Regions from separate parts of the Homo sapiens genome. Here all the other regions are linked to region 1. The links are contacts of gene promoters, found by promoter capture Hi-C in human tissues and cell types (Jung and others, 2019). All regions are on one chromosome and are shown on one strand. Each heading gives the region's core, a stretch centred on a gene start or on the middle of the fragment in contact. The rest is flanking DNA. Distances are from core to core; before and after follow the strand shown.

Region 1 (4,333 bases), core at 616-3,115:
CTTTGTAACTGCTAATCAACATCGGAGTTACATAAGGTTAAGTCAGATTCAGCCAAATGAAGGAACAGACTAGAAGACAAGGTTCTCTGTTTATTGGGCTAAACGGGGCAGTAAATTGTGGCTTGTACCTCGCTTCTTAGATCTGCTTCTGGAATAAGCAGTTTATTGACAGTTATCACCACATTGGCAGAGGTTTTGCAAAAATGAAGGGCTCAATCTTTCAGTAAACGCTTTCTTAATTTTTAATCTGACATAGAAAGTTGAAGAAGTAATCTAAAAAATAGAAGGTTTGAGGAATAGTGGTTCTTCCTAGAGACCATAAAGAGCCACAACACAAATGATAGTGAAAAACGGGTTTCAATTTCCATTGAAAATACTCTAAGATACACAGGTTTGAGAATTATATTTTTCTAATTGTAACATTTTGAATTTCATTTCAATGCTGCTGTCCTAAGACAAGTATGAGAAATTAATCCTAGGTCTCCACACCTTAAGATACACTGTGTAAGGCCAGGCATGGTGGCTCACGCCTGTAATCCCAGCACTTTGGGAGGCCGAGGCAGGAGGATCACCTGAGGTCACAAGTTCGACGTCAGCCTGGCCAACATGGTGAAACCCCACCTCTACTAAAAATACAAAAATCACCCGGGCATGGTGGCAGACGCCTGTAATCCCAGCTACTGCGGAGGCTGAGGCAAGAGAATCCCTTGAACCCGAGAGGCGGAGGTTGCAGTGGGCCGAGATCGCGCCATTGCACTCCAGCCTGGGTGACAGAACAAGACAAAAAAAAAAAAAGATACACTGGGTAATCACTAACCCATTATTCCTTGTGGCGTTACGAGGTCGGACCAATCCTTGATATCCTCAAATTTCACCTTAATGAGGCTGACACCTTTCAGCTTATCGACTGGCAACTCCTTTAGGTATTCTAGACGGCTAAAGAAGAACATTTTTGGCACAGCTCCAGCCTTGAGAGCGTCTGAAATGAGCCTGCGACCTTCCAGCAGGATCTTCCCTTGTTTTTCCCGAAATGGCCTGGACTTTACTATTGTCATTACACTGCTGTAGATGGAAATAAAAAAAAAAAACAGGTAACTATCAACATCCTTGTTACTGAGACACGCTTAGTTGTAACAGAAATAAAGAGCTACGGAGAGGGCCGGGCGCGGTGGCTCACGCCTGTAATCCCAGCACATTGGGAGGCCGAGGCGGGCGGATCACCTGAGGTCAGGAGTTCCAGATCAGCCTGGCTAACATGGTGAAACAAAAACAACAACAAAGAGCTAAGGAGAAACAGAAGCTAATTCCAAAGACGCTTATTCGGCCCTCTGTGCATAATACAAAAACCAGCGGGCTGTACTGGAAGAAGTCCTCCATCGGAAGGAGGTTAAGGTTCCGCTGTGCGACGGGAAGGGAAACGAGAACATTCGACAGGCTCAAGAACCACATCACCTCAGCCTCCTGTCCCCGGGATAAGCTTTATCGTAGCGAAGCCCAGACTCTTCCCAGGTGCTGGGAGCGCGGGATGCGGACTCCTCGAGCGGTTGTTTCTCTCGTTGCTCCTGGGCACTGGCCTCAGATGGTGCCTTGCGGGGCTGCTTCCCAGGAGCGCGCTTCTGTTCCACCACCTCTCCGGAAGGAAACACCACTTTCACTGGGCTCCGCCGCAGCGCCCGGACCCAGCGCCTCGCGTCAAGGTCCCAAGCCTGGACCACCTGCAGCAACGGTCGCACGACAAACCTCGCGGGTCTCACCAGCGCCGCCATGTTCCCTGAGACCCGGGCTGCGTCACGAAAGCGCGCCGTCGGCGGCTAGTGACGTCACGGCCCGTGGCGCCCTTCGTGGACTGGGCTGTACGGTGCGCGTGACGGCTGCGTGCGGCGGGAATCATGGCTGCTCGCAGAGCTCTGCACTTCGTATTCAAAGTGGGAAACCGCTTCCAGACGGCGCGTTTCTATCGGGACGTCCTGGGGATGAAGGTGCAGGCCGGGGCCGACAGGGGCTGGCGCGCGAGGCTGGAACCGGCGCCCGAGCCGGCCCTGGCGGAGGGAGGGGAAAATGGGTGTGTCGTGAACCTAAGCCGGAGGGTGTCCGACCTTAGGCCCTGCGCGGTGTTCAGCTTCAGGAGCGTGGCGAGTTGCCGTTGGGGATCATAGGCCTTGGAGAAGGGCCTAACACGATTAGTCCCCGCGGTGTGCCCACGCACGTCCTTTCATTTAAGCCACTCGTAAACGTTTATTGAGCCCCGCCCTTGTGGAGCTTACCGTCTACCGGAAAAGACGGTAAATAAAATGTTATATAATGCTTTCTAGTTAATATTTGTGTTTTCCGGTTTGGAGCCTTTGATGTAGATAAAATCAGCGTATTCAGAGTTCTGCTTCTAGCAAGGCTGGTCTGAATAGTCCGTTTCGGATACTCAGTCTCTGAATATATGCTCCAACTCTCAACCCATCTGCTTTTCAACAGCACCCAGAAGCGGTCTGTCTCGGGTCCTGAGGAGCTGTTATTTGCAGGATTCAGTTGGTTGGGGAACTGGGTTTTGGGGACCTCCTTTGATAAGCCAGGGAGGTAGGGAACACACCACTAAGGAAGACTTGAAAGGTGCAAGAGCGCGGTTTAGTGTATAGACGGTGCAATAGACGGGGATCTGAATTCGTCAGGTCATTTTTAAAATATCTGCTATTTTCAGGGTACTACGTTGAGTTTTGGCAACAAAGGTGCAAATGACCCTGATATATATCCTCCATTAGAGCTCATGGCCTGGGTTGGGGTGGGAGTTGGAACTGGATTTGTACGTAGATGATGGTAATGGAAGTCAGAATTTGATAGTGAAAAACCACCAAACTTTCGATAGCAGAAACCACAGAGCTGTCCCTTGTTAGTATTTCCTCGTCGATCAAAAGGTTGTTGCAAAGATTAAACACGTGCCGGCGCGGTGGCCCACGCCTGTAATCTCAGCACTTTGGGAGGCCAAGGCGGGTGGATCACTGGAGGTCAGGAGTTGGACACCAGCCTGGCCAACATGGTGAAACCCTGTCTCTACTAAAAATACAAAAATTAGCCGGGCATGGTGGCACACGCCTGTAATCCCAGCTACTCGGGAGGCTGAGGCAAGAGAATCGCCTGTATCTGGGAGGCGGAGGTTGCAGTGAGCCGAGATCGCACCATTGTGTTCCAGCCTGGATGACGAAAGCAAAACTCCGTCTCAAAAAAAAAAAAAAAAAAAAGATTCAACACCTTATTATATGTATAGTATTTAACATATCGGTAATAGTAGATTATATAAGTGTTAGCCACTATTATAAAAATACAAAAGAAGGAGCGGTTTTCCAACCTGGGTGATGAGGAAATAATTCATGTAGACCTTGTATTCGAGTTGACTTTTTTTTTTTTTTTTTTTTTTGAGGTGGAGTCTTGCTCTGTCGCCAGGCTGGAGTGCAGTGGCGCGATCTCGGCTCACTGTAAGCTCAGCCTCCCGGGTTCACACCATTCTCCTGCCTCAGCCTCCCGAGTAGCTGGGACCACAGGCGCGTACCACAACACCCGGCTAATTTTTAAAAATATTTTTAGTAGAGACGGGGTTTCACCGTGTTAGCCAGGATTCGAGTTGACGTCTAAAGATAGGATATCCACAGGTAGATGAGAGGAGGAGCTACATAGTAAAACTGAAGAGCCAGTGCGGAGATGGCACATGTTTGCGAAGCCGCTGGTTTTATGTGCCTTTAGTTGAGGTTGCTTAGTTGAAGTTAAGGAGATGGGATATCAGGATGGACAGGTCGGCATTGCTTCTAATAGTATCTTGAATGCTATGCTAAAGAATTTGGATTTTATGCTGCAGTAAGATGGGAGCTCACTTATGTTCTTAAACAGGGTGGTGATGGGATCAGTGCTTTGTGCTTTAGGCATGTGCTTTTTTGGTGTTATTAAGGAAGGATATCAATAAGGATTTTTTTATTTTTTATTTTTTATTTTTTTTATGTTGAGACGGAGTCTCGCTCTTTCGCCCAGGCTGGAGTGCAGTGGCGCAATCTCGGCTCACTGCAAGCTCCGCCTCCTGGGTTCACACCATTCTCCTGCCTCAGCCTCCCGAGTAGCTGGTACTACAGGCGCCCGCCACCACGCCCTGCTTATTTTTTGTATTTTTAGTAGAGATGGGGTTTTACTGTGTTAGCCAGGATGGTCTCGATCTCCTGACCTCATGATCCACCCACCTCGGCCTCCCAAAGTGCTGGGATTACAGGCGTGAGCCACCGCGCCCGGCCAATAAGGATGATTTTTAATAGTCTGAGCGAAGCGTTGGGAACTTCAACTGGCAGGAGCCGTGGGAATCAAA
Region 2 (4,333 bases), core at 288-2,787, 250 kb before region 1:
GGGCCTTGCTGGCTGCCCCTTTGCTGAGGGGCGCCGACCGCAGCACCGTCTGCCGTGTGAGGTTTCTCTGTGCAGGATTGTGGGGAGGGGAGATGCTGCCGGGTCTGGGGGCTCGAGGCTTCCCTTCAGGGACCACCCATCTGACTGTGGGCCCAGTGCCCGCCGGGCACCAGGCGTTCCGTCCATGTGCCAGGGCAGACCGCCGGTGCCCCTGCAGCCCCAGACCTGAGTTGGGATTAAAATCTGAGATAGAAGCCGACTGTCCTGCAGCTGGGCAGGCTGCCTCGGGGCTGGCTTGGGGCCCTGGCATCAGGCACGTGAGGAAGAGCCAGACCCAGCGCCCAGCGCACAGGAAGTGCTCGATAACTCTGCAGATCAAATCAACTGTCCGAGTTAGCTGTCTCAGAGTGCCAGTCCGGCTGGCCAGGGCTGGGCCCATCCATCAAGAGAGCAACAAGGGAGGCCTTGGCCAGTCCGTGGTGGGGATCTGCAGCTCCTCCTGAGGCTCACAGGACCTCTCTGCAGGCTCTTACTGCCAGCCGGCATTGAGGCTCCTGGCATCAGCCAGGACGAAGTGATCTTGGGCTCACTGGCCCCTCGTTTTGTTTCAGCTCCTGCCATGGGGCATACTTGACCTCCCAGAGGTGACATCAGCCCTGGAAAGTGCTGGGCAGGGCAGCAACTTGAGCTGTACTGCACTGGCCCCTGTGTCACCTTCAGCCTCCCTGGGGACTGGGCTAGCAGAGCCCTGCTGGCCCCAGCTGCTGCCAGAGCCCCTCTGTGCTGAGGCAGCTGTCTGTGCCCGGCAGCGTGGACTCATCCCCTCCCCAGCCCCTGCTGAGGCCAGCAGGCACCAGCCCAGAGCTCACCATCCATCCCCAAACGTCAGGGTTGGCAAGAAACTGACCTGGCAGGTTCCGGGTCCAGCGCCAGCCAAACAGGGCGCTTCCAGTTTACCTGCCCCTTTGAGGAGGTGCCTGGTGGGCAGGGGGCAACTTTTAAACCTGAGGTCCCAGACTTTCAGTTCTTTCCCTATGCATTTGTGGCCGGCAGAACTGAGAAGCCCCTTCAAGAATTCCTTAGCTGGGTTTGCCTCTGGCAGTGCCTGGTGGCTCCGTGTCTGATGGGGATCTCTGGGCAGGGGTGGTGGCCAGGCAGACGCCGGGCTATTGAGCTGCTGAGCAGTTGGCGTCAGTGCAGCTCAGGGTGGCCCCGGCCCTGGGCTGCTCTGTGTGACGAGCGATTCCATCCCCTAACGTGTGCTGTGTGCCACAGTGTGTCCGTGTCGTGGACGCAGGGGTCAGCGCTGTGGCGGACGGAGGGACGTCTGCCACAGTGTGTCCGTGTCGTGGACGCAGGGGTCAGCGCTGTGGTGGACGGAGGGACGTCTGCCACAGTGTGTCCGTGTCGTGGACACGGGTCAGCGCTGTGGTGGACGGAGGGACGTCTGCCCTGTGCTTCCCACCTCACTGTGCGCAGGCCAGCGGGTGAGCAGCAGAGTCAAAGGGCCAGGCCTCTTGCTTTCTATCCTCAGCCACATTAACCTGGCATTTTCCTGCAGGAGCTTCACAGTTGGGCCGAGGGGCTGGGACTAGGCAGTTTCGTTTCGGTGGGGTAAGGGAAGGGTGCCTGGTACTGCCCAGACTGGCAGGAGGGATTGCCTCATTAACTCCTCGTTAACTTTGCCCTGAGTGATGCTGTGGGTGCGAGAAACACCGGTGGCCCTCCTGCTTCCACTGACCTGAAGGTTCATTAAAGGCTGGAGGCGGGGCGTGACTCATCCAGGGCTGGGATTAAACAATCTGTTCAGATGGAAAGGTCTCATGATCAGAACTGAGCCTTTAAATAGTGCAGGGCCTCTGGTTTCTGGGGGAGAGGAGGCAGGGACACTCACGGAGGATCCTTTGGGTACCAGCGGGGGTCCCTGTGGTTGGGCTGTTCTTGTCACCGGAGGAGAGTTCAGGGGCCAAAGCCTCATTCCAGCCCCTGACTTGGCAGTCAGCTTTTTGTGCGAGTGTTTAGCTGGGAGACACGTGGCATCTGGGTTTGTGGGTTCAGCCAGGGCTCTCGGTATTGAACTTCGCGTTTCTACTTTTCTTTCCTTTTCCCTGTTTGTTTTTTTTTTTTTTTGCCTCAAATCACACTCAAGTAGACCAGGCCCGGTGCCTTCCTCTCCCTCCCATCCTTCCCTCTTCTAGATTCTTGGTTGAGCTTTGGATGGGAAGGGGCTGAATTCTAGATTCTCGCTTGAGCTTTGGAGGGGAAGGGGCTGAAGGAGGAACCCCCCCACCCTGCCCCCGCAGCATCCCCTTGTGGGAGCCGTGAGGAGGCTAAGAGGGCCTGAAGGGAGGCCGGTCCAGAAGCATTTGTCTGTCGGGGAAGTTGAGGCCCTTATAGAGCAACCAAGTCCAAGACGCTCCTGACCCAGACCAGGCCAGATGCTGGCCGGCGGTGGGGACTCAGGCTGAGCCGGCAGGGTGTAAGGAGATTGAGTGCAGCTTCAGGTGACCTTGTCTCTGCCCTGAAGCACAGCCATGTGGGTCTGAGAATCCCCTACTTCCAAAGAGCTCCTCTTAAGCTGGACACCGGCACTGCTGACCCCCACGGTGAGTCCCGTGTTCTGTGATGGGAGCTGCTGCCTTTGCTTCAGAGAGGATCAGAGGTGTTACCTGAGGAAGGGCGGGGTGGAGAGCCCCTCTTGGGCCATTCGGGGAAGCTTCAGGCTCATGATGGTCTTAGAAGAAGGTCCCTTTCTTGGATCACCTGATGTCAGGAGTCCAAGACCAGCCTGGCCAACATGGAGAAGCCCCGTCTCAACTAACAATGCAAAAATTAGCCAAGTGTGGTGGCTCACGCCTGTCATCCCAGCACTTTGGGAGGCAGAGGCGGGTGGATCACCTGAGGTCAGGCGTTCGAGACCAGCCTGGCCAACATGGTGAAACCCCGTGTCTACTAAAAATACAAAAAAAAAAAAAATAGCCGGGCATGGTGGCGGGCACCTGTAATCCCAGCTGCTAGGGAGGCTGAGGCAGGAGCATCGCTTGAACCTGGGAGGTGGAGGTTGCAGTGAGCCGAGATCATGCCACTGCACTCCAGCCTGGGCAACAGAGCGAGACTCGGTCTTGGGGTGGGGGGAGGAAAGGGTCCCTTTCTTTGTCAGCTTGATCGCCACCGCAGGACAACCCCACCCCTCACAGAGCCTGTCGTTTATTCCTTCTTGATGGTACCAGGTGTGCAGACCACGTGCACACCCCAGAGGTTCACTCTACCACTCACTTGGCCATCGAGGGTACACAGGTGCTGGGTACAAGATACAGATATGTCTTGGGCTCGTCTACTTTATTTTATAATCCAGTCTGGGCGTCAGGAAAGATCTCGCAGCCTTCTGCAATAGAAGTCTGGCCTGGCCCGGCTGCCCACCGCCCTTCCTTGTTTCCCGGTGGGAAGAAAGCTTCATCGTGCGTCTTCTCTGTTCACACACACCCCCATAGCGACCCCTCAGCCACAGACAGGGGACTACAGTGCTGCCTCCCCCGAGAGCTGGAGGCCCCTACACCAGCCCACCTCTTCCTGGGCCTATGTGTGGGTCCTGACTGCGGCCAGGCTGGCTGACAGGTTGGCAGTGGGGTCGGGCGACCCTCCCTCTTTTCCACAGCACTTACCCACCTGCCGAGTGGGCAGACCTCACTGCTGGGGCCTCATGAGTACTCTCTGATCTCTCTGCCAGGCCAGCTCCCAAGAGGCTTGCTTGAGTCCGCAGAGCGGGAACCCTGGACTCTGAGAATCTGATGAAGGTTCTGGAGGCCACTCAGACACAGAGCCACCCCATGCACACACTGTGTGCGACTTCAGAGGGGGCTGCAGACATCAAGGCGGGAACCCTGCTCTGAGTGAACTTGGCAAGGTGCCGCTTCTTGGTACCTAGGGAGGGTAGAAGGGCGCTGGTCCTCCCCGGCCTCCCTGCAGGCCACAGACGGCTTGGCCAGCCAGCGGTGCTGGGCGCGGTGCCCCAGCTTTTGGATGGCTCTGGACCAGGGAGAGGAGAACCTGCCAATCAAGGGGGTTCCTCAAAGGCCAAAGCTGCCTGAGCCCAGTGTTGCTGTAGTACCCAGAGGCAATGAGGCCCCAGACATTTTGGAAGGAGCCCCCAAGCCTGCAGGTGTGGCTGGGGGAGCTGCCCCAGGCATTTTGGAAGGAGCCCCCAAGCCTGCAGGTGTGAGTCTGGGGGAGCTGCCCCAGGCATTTTGGAAGGAGCCCCCAAGCCTGCAGGTGTGAGTCTGGGGGAGCTGCCCCAGGCATTTTGGAAGCGCCCCCAAGCCTGCAGGTGTGAGTC
Region 3 (4,333 bases), core at 868-3,367, 160 kb before region 1:
ATGGCTGTGCCCTGGAATCTTGTTTTTAAGGGTCCTGCAAAGCCCGCTGGGCTGTTGTGAGATGAGGCATGCCGTCCGTACCTGGTTCTGAGTGGTGAAAGGGTCTGGGTGATGTCTTCGTTAGGGGCTTTTGACCTCAGTGGAATTGATTTTTAACAGAGACATTGCGTTTGGAAGTTGCCCACGGCCCTTTTTCCTTCTTTTTACCAAAACATCTATTGGGATAGTTTCCTCTTTTAAAAGTAATATTGAGGCCAGGTGCAATGGCTCACGCCTGTAATCCCAGCGCTTAAGGAGACAGAGATGGGAAGATAGCTTGAGCCCAGGAGTTTGAGACCTGCCTAGGCAACATAGCGAAACCCTATAATCCACAAAAAGGGGGAGAAAGAGACCAAAAAAAAAAAAAAATTGAGGCCAGGCACAGTGGCTCATGCCTGTAATTCCAGCACTTTGGGAGGCAGAAGTGGGAGGATCACCTGAGGCCAGCCTGGGGAACATACTGAGACCCCCCCACCTCGATCTCTACCAAAAAAATACAAAAATTAGTTAGCTGGCGTGGTGGCCTGTGCCTGTGGTCCCGGCTACTCAGGAGGCTGAGGTGGGAGGATCACTTGATCCCGGCAGTTTGAGGCTACAGTGAGCCATGATCACACCACTGCACTCCAGCCTGGATGACAGCAAAAAAAAAATAAGAAAAAAAAGGTAATACTGGAAGCGGGAGTTGACTGCACTCTCCCTGCCCCACTGCAGGGCCCGCCACAGTGTTGCTCATGCCTGCAAATTATATTTTTTAAAAAGTAATAATGGATCATCGAATACAAAAAAAGCATGTGGGGGATCAGTCTCCTGCAGACCCCCTAGCTAGAAGCATGGATGTTCCGACATCACAAGGCAGCCTTGTCTTTTCCTATGTAGGCACGTACGTGTGTGTCTTACACAATTAGGATGTATTTTGAGTGTATTTTCATGTAAGAACGTATTCTTTAAAAAGATGATCTCTGGCCAGGCGCGGTGGCTCACGCCTGTAATCCCAGCACTTTGGGAGGCCAAGGTGGGAGGATCACCTGAGGTCAGGAGTTTGAGACCAGCCTGGCCAACATGGTGAAACCCCATCTCTACTAAAAATATAGGAATTAATTAGGCGTGGTGGCGGGCACCTGTAATCCCTGCTACTGGGGAGGATAAGGCAGGAGAATCACTTGAACCTGCGAGGCAGAGATTGCAGTGAGCCAAGATGGTGCCACTGCACTCCAGCCTGGGTGACAAGAGTGAAACTCTTGTCTCAAAAAAAAAAAAAAAAAGCTGATTTCTAATAGTTACGTGGTATTTTGCTGTATCTATCTGTCTATGTGTATATATGTACCATATTTAATAGTTTCCAGTTTCCTATGATAGGAAATGTAGGCCAGTTCCAGATTTTGCTGGAATAACCAGCGCTGTTATAAACTTGTTTTTATATTCTTCTCTGTGCACATCTTTGGTGGTTCTCTAAGGATAAATTCCTAGAAGAGGAATTGCTAGGTCAAAGATTCTGTTATATTTTTAGCTCTCATTTTCCTTTCATTTGTTCTTTTCTTTCTTTCTTTTTTTTTTGAGAGGGAGTCTCACCCTTGTCGCCCAGGCTGGAGTGCAGCGGTGAGATCTTGGCTCACTGCAGTCTCTGCCTCCCAGGCTCAAGCAATTCTCCTGCCTCAGCGTCCCGTGTAGCTGGGATTACAGGAGCCCGCCACCACACCCAGCTAATTTTTAGTAGAGACGGGGTTTTGCCATGTTGGCCAGGCTGGTCTTGAACCCCTGGCCTCAAGTGATCCGCCCGCCTCGGCCTACCAAAGTGCTGGGATTACAGGCATGAGCCACCGCGCCCAGCCTGTTCTGTTCTTAATTTTATCTTCTTTTTCATCATTTTTCTTTTGATTTTGCCTGTTTTCTTTCTTTTTGTTTTTGTTTTTTGTTTTGTTTTTTGAGACAGTGTCTCACTCTGTCACCCAGGCTGGAGTGCAGTGGCGCAATCTCGGCTCACTGCGACCTCCGCCTCCCCAGGTTCAAGTGATTCTCCTGCCTCCGCCTCCCAAGTAGCTGGGACTACAGGGGCTCGTCACTAAGCCCGGCTAAGTTTTGTATTTTTTTAGTAGAGACGGGGGTTTCGCCATGTTGGCTGGGCTGATCTCGAACTCCTGACCTCGTGATCCGCCTGCCTCAGCCTCCCAAAGTGTTGGGATTACAGGCGTGAGCCGCCGCGCCCGGCCGGGCTGGGGACCTTTTCTTTGGCTCGGCCTTCGCACTAGCTGTGAGCTGTGTTTGTGGCCAGCTCACTTGCTGTCATATCAGGGCAAGCTCTTGCCGCCTGCTCTAGATCTAACCGCCGACCTGGGCCTTCCCATCATCTCGTGCTTTTCAAAAACTGCTTTCTGGAGCAGTAAAACCGCCCAAGTGGAAAGCTTGTTCCTCTCCGGCCTCTTTTGTCCTCTGACCCTGACCCCTCCGAATAGGCATATTCACAGGGTTCTCCTGGGGCCTCTGCCCCTTAACCTCTGTGTATTTGCTGCTACGCAGAAGGCCATTGCAAGGTTGGCCTTGGTGGGTTTTCAAATGTGGTCCCAGCTGCAGCCATTCCTCTTCCTTCCTGTCCTTGTACCAAAAGCAGAAGCCTTCTGGGTTCTTCTTCAGCGACGGCCCCTGCGCCCCGTGGCTCCTGTGGCCTTTCCGCTGGGCGCAGCGTTTTTCTTCCCTCGTGGCTGCTGAGCGCTGCTCTGGGCTATGTGACTTCAAAGCCATTCCCCCAGAGGTAGCTGTCCTTAAACTAAAACTGAAACGAAAGACATTTCTGAGCTCCTTAAAAAATAATCATCATCATCGAACGCCCCGTGAATTCTCTGCTTTTCATGTGGTTCCCGGCGTCCCCGTGACAGCGTGACCTGTTGTGGGCTGCCAGCTCGGATGCCTTTGATGTCTGTCTCCAGGATACTTCCCTGGAATCTGTGCAGAAAAGAGTGAAATTGGAGTGAGTGTGTGTGTTGGGGAGGGCGGTGGGGGGACCCCAGGAACTTTGGGGGTGTGTTCTGAAGGAAACGAGCTTGAACCGGCAATAGCCTCGGAGAAGTGTGCGTTCCTCTCGATGACGGAGAGTTTTGGCTTTTCCCTCCTTTTGTCCCTCCCCACCTGTTTTCCCTGAAGCTGCCCCTTTGGTTCTCACTGTGTACGGATCACCGCAGAGCCCCCTTCTCCAGGTGTGTTCCTTGTGTCCTGAGTTCTCAAGCAGCCTTGTGGGTCCCTGTTGGAAGCTGATTCCTTCCGTTTCCTCTGGCCGCTTCCCTCTTGGACTCCTGGGCTCTTCTTTTTTGCCCTGCACCTTGCCCCCTGCCCTCCTTTTTCTTCCTTAAGAAAAAATGCACCCAGCACCTTGGGAGGCCGAGGCGGGCGGATCACCCGAGCTCAGTAGTTTGAGACCAGCCCGGCCAACATGATGAAACCCCATCTCTACAAAAAATACAAAAAATCAGCCGGGCGTGGTGCTGGGTGCCTGTAATCCCAGCCACTCAGGACACCGAGGTGGGAGGATCACTTGAGCCCGGGAGGCAAAGGCTGCAGTAAAGGCTGCAGAGTCTCACTGTGTCACTCAGGCTGGAATGCGGTTGTGCAATCTCGGCCTCCTGGGGTCAAGCTGATCCTCCCACCTCAGCCTCCCAAAGTGCTGGGATTACAGGCGTGAGCCACCGTACCCGGCCTTTCTGCCTCTTTTCTATCCATAGGTGTTGTGATGGTGAACACAGGCCTGCCTTTTCTGGAACACTCCCAGTTTTATGTCATTTTAACTTTTTCATTAAAGGTGAGCTTATGTGGGGAAGTGTGACTTAACTGTAATACCTCTGTGAAGTATCTCGTATGCGTTTGCAAGTTAGAAAAGAAATCCGTTATAAATCCATGGATTCTGAAAACTGGTACCGCCGACAGCTCTGATGCCCCGTTTTAGCCAGACATCGTAGCACCCTTTTTTTCCCTCACTGTTTGCACAACCAGAATTGGGCACCCCAGACCTGAGGCAGGCCGACACACCTCGCCCTTCTCTCCTGCCCTTCCTCCAAGTCCAGTTTTTCCGCAGCAGAATCCTGCTTTCAGTCACTTTTGGGGACCGGAAGGTGTGGAAGGAGAGAATCATCGAGCTGGGTGGTGGCAGCACGCGGCGTGTGCACTGACAGGATGGGCTTGACCTGGGCAGATGCTGGCCGGGTTGTGTGTGGTGCACACTCACCACCTCACCGTGGACACTCACCAGGGCACCCGTCGCTGCAGTGCCTCAGAGGGAGGGCGGCTCTTCCACCCCACGGGAGAAGAA

What was found. Contacts are between HindIII fragments. The study calls those that stand out against the background at their distance.
Region 2: a contact is called between a fragment that was not itself captured here and the fragment with the promoter of GLOD4 in region 1, in 5 of the 25 tissues and cell types used here (H1 embryonic stem cells, IMR-90 fibroblasts, lymphoblastoid cells and 2 more).
Region 3: a contact is called between a fragment that was not itself captured here and the fragment with the promoter of GLOD4 in region 1, in 1 of the 25 tissues and cell types used here (mesendoderm cells).

What each region holds. Positions count from the first base shown.
Region 1 is chr17:779,812-784,144 of GRCh38, reverse strand. It overlaps GLOD4 (glyoxalase domain containing 4), which reads left to right and starts at 1,865. Exons shown (of 9, transcript NM_016080.4): 1 at 1,865-1,979. The coding sequence starts at 1,890. MRM3 (mitochondrial rRNA methyltransferase 3) reads right to left here and starts at 1,792. Exons shown (of 4, transcript NM_018146.4): 1 at 1,453-1,792; 2 at 818-1,062. The coding sequence starts at 1,766. RefSeq lists enhancers at 1,265-1,813, 1,485-1,834, 2,835-2,934. The HindIII fragment of the contact is 5,823 bases long and covers 225-4,333 here.
Region 2 is chr17:1,026,900-1,031,232 of GRCh38, reverse strand. All of the region lies in intron 16 of ABR (ABR activator of RhoGEF and GTPase), which reads left to right. Among named protein-coding and RNA genes, the nearest start is that of MIR3183, 6.5 kb to the right of the region's middle. RefSeq lists an enhancer at 515-684. The HindIII fragment of the contact is 7,966 bases long and covers 1-4,333 here.
Region 3 is chr17:936,313-940,645 of GRCh38, reverse strand. The region is part of intron 1 of NXN (nucleoredoxin); the gene reads left to right. Among named protein-coding and RNA genes, the nearest start is that of NXN, 41 kb to the left of the region's middle. The HindIII fragment of the contact is 5,440 bases long and covers 1-4,333 here.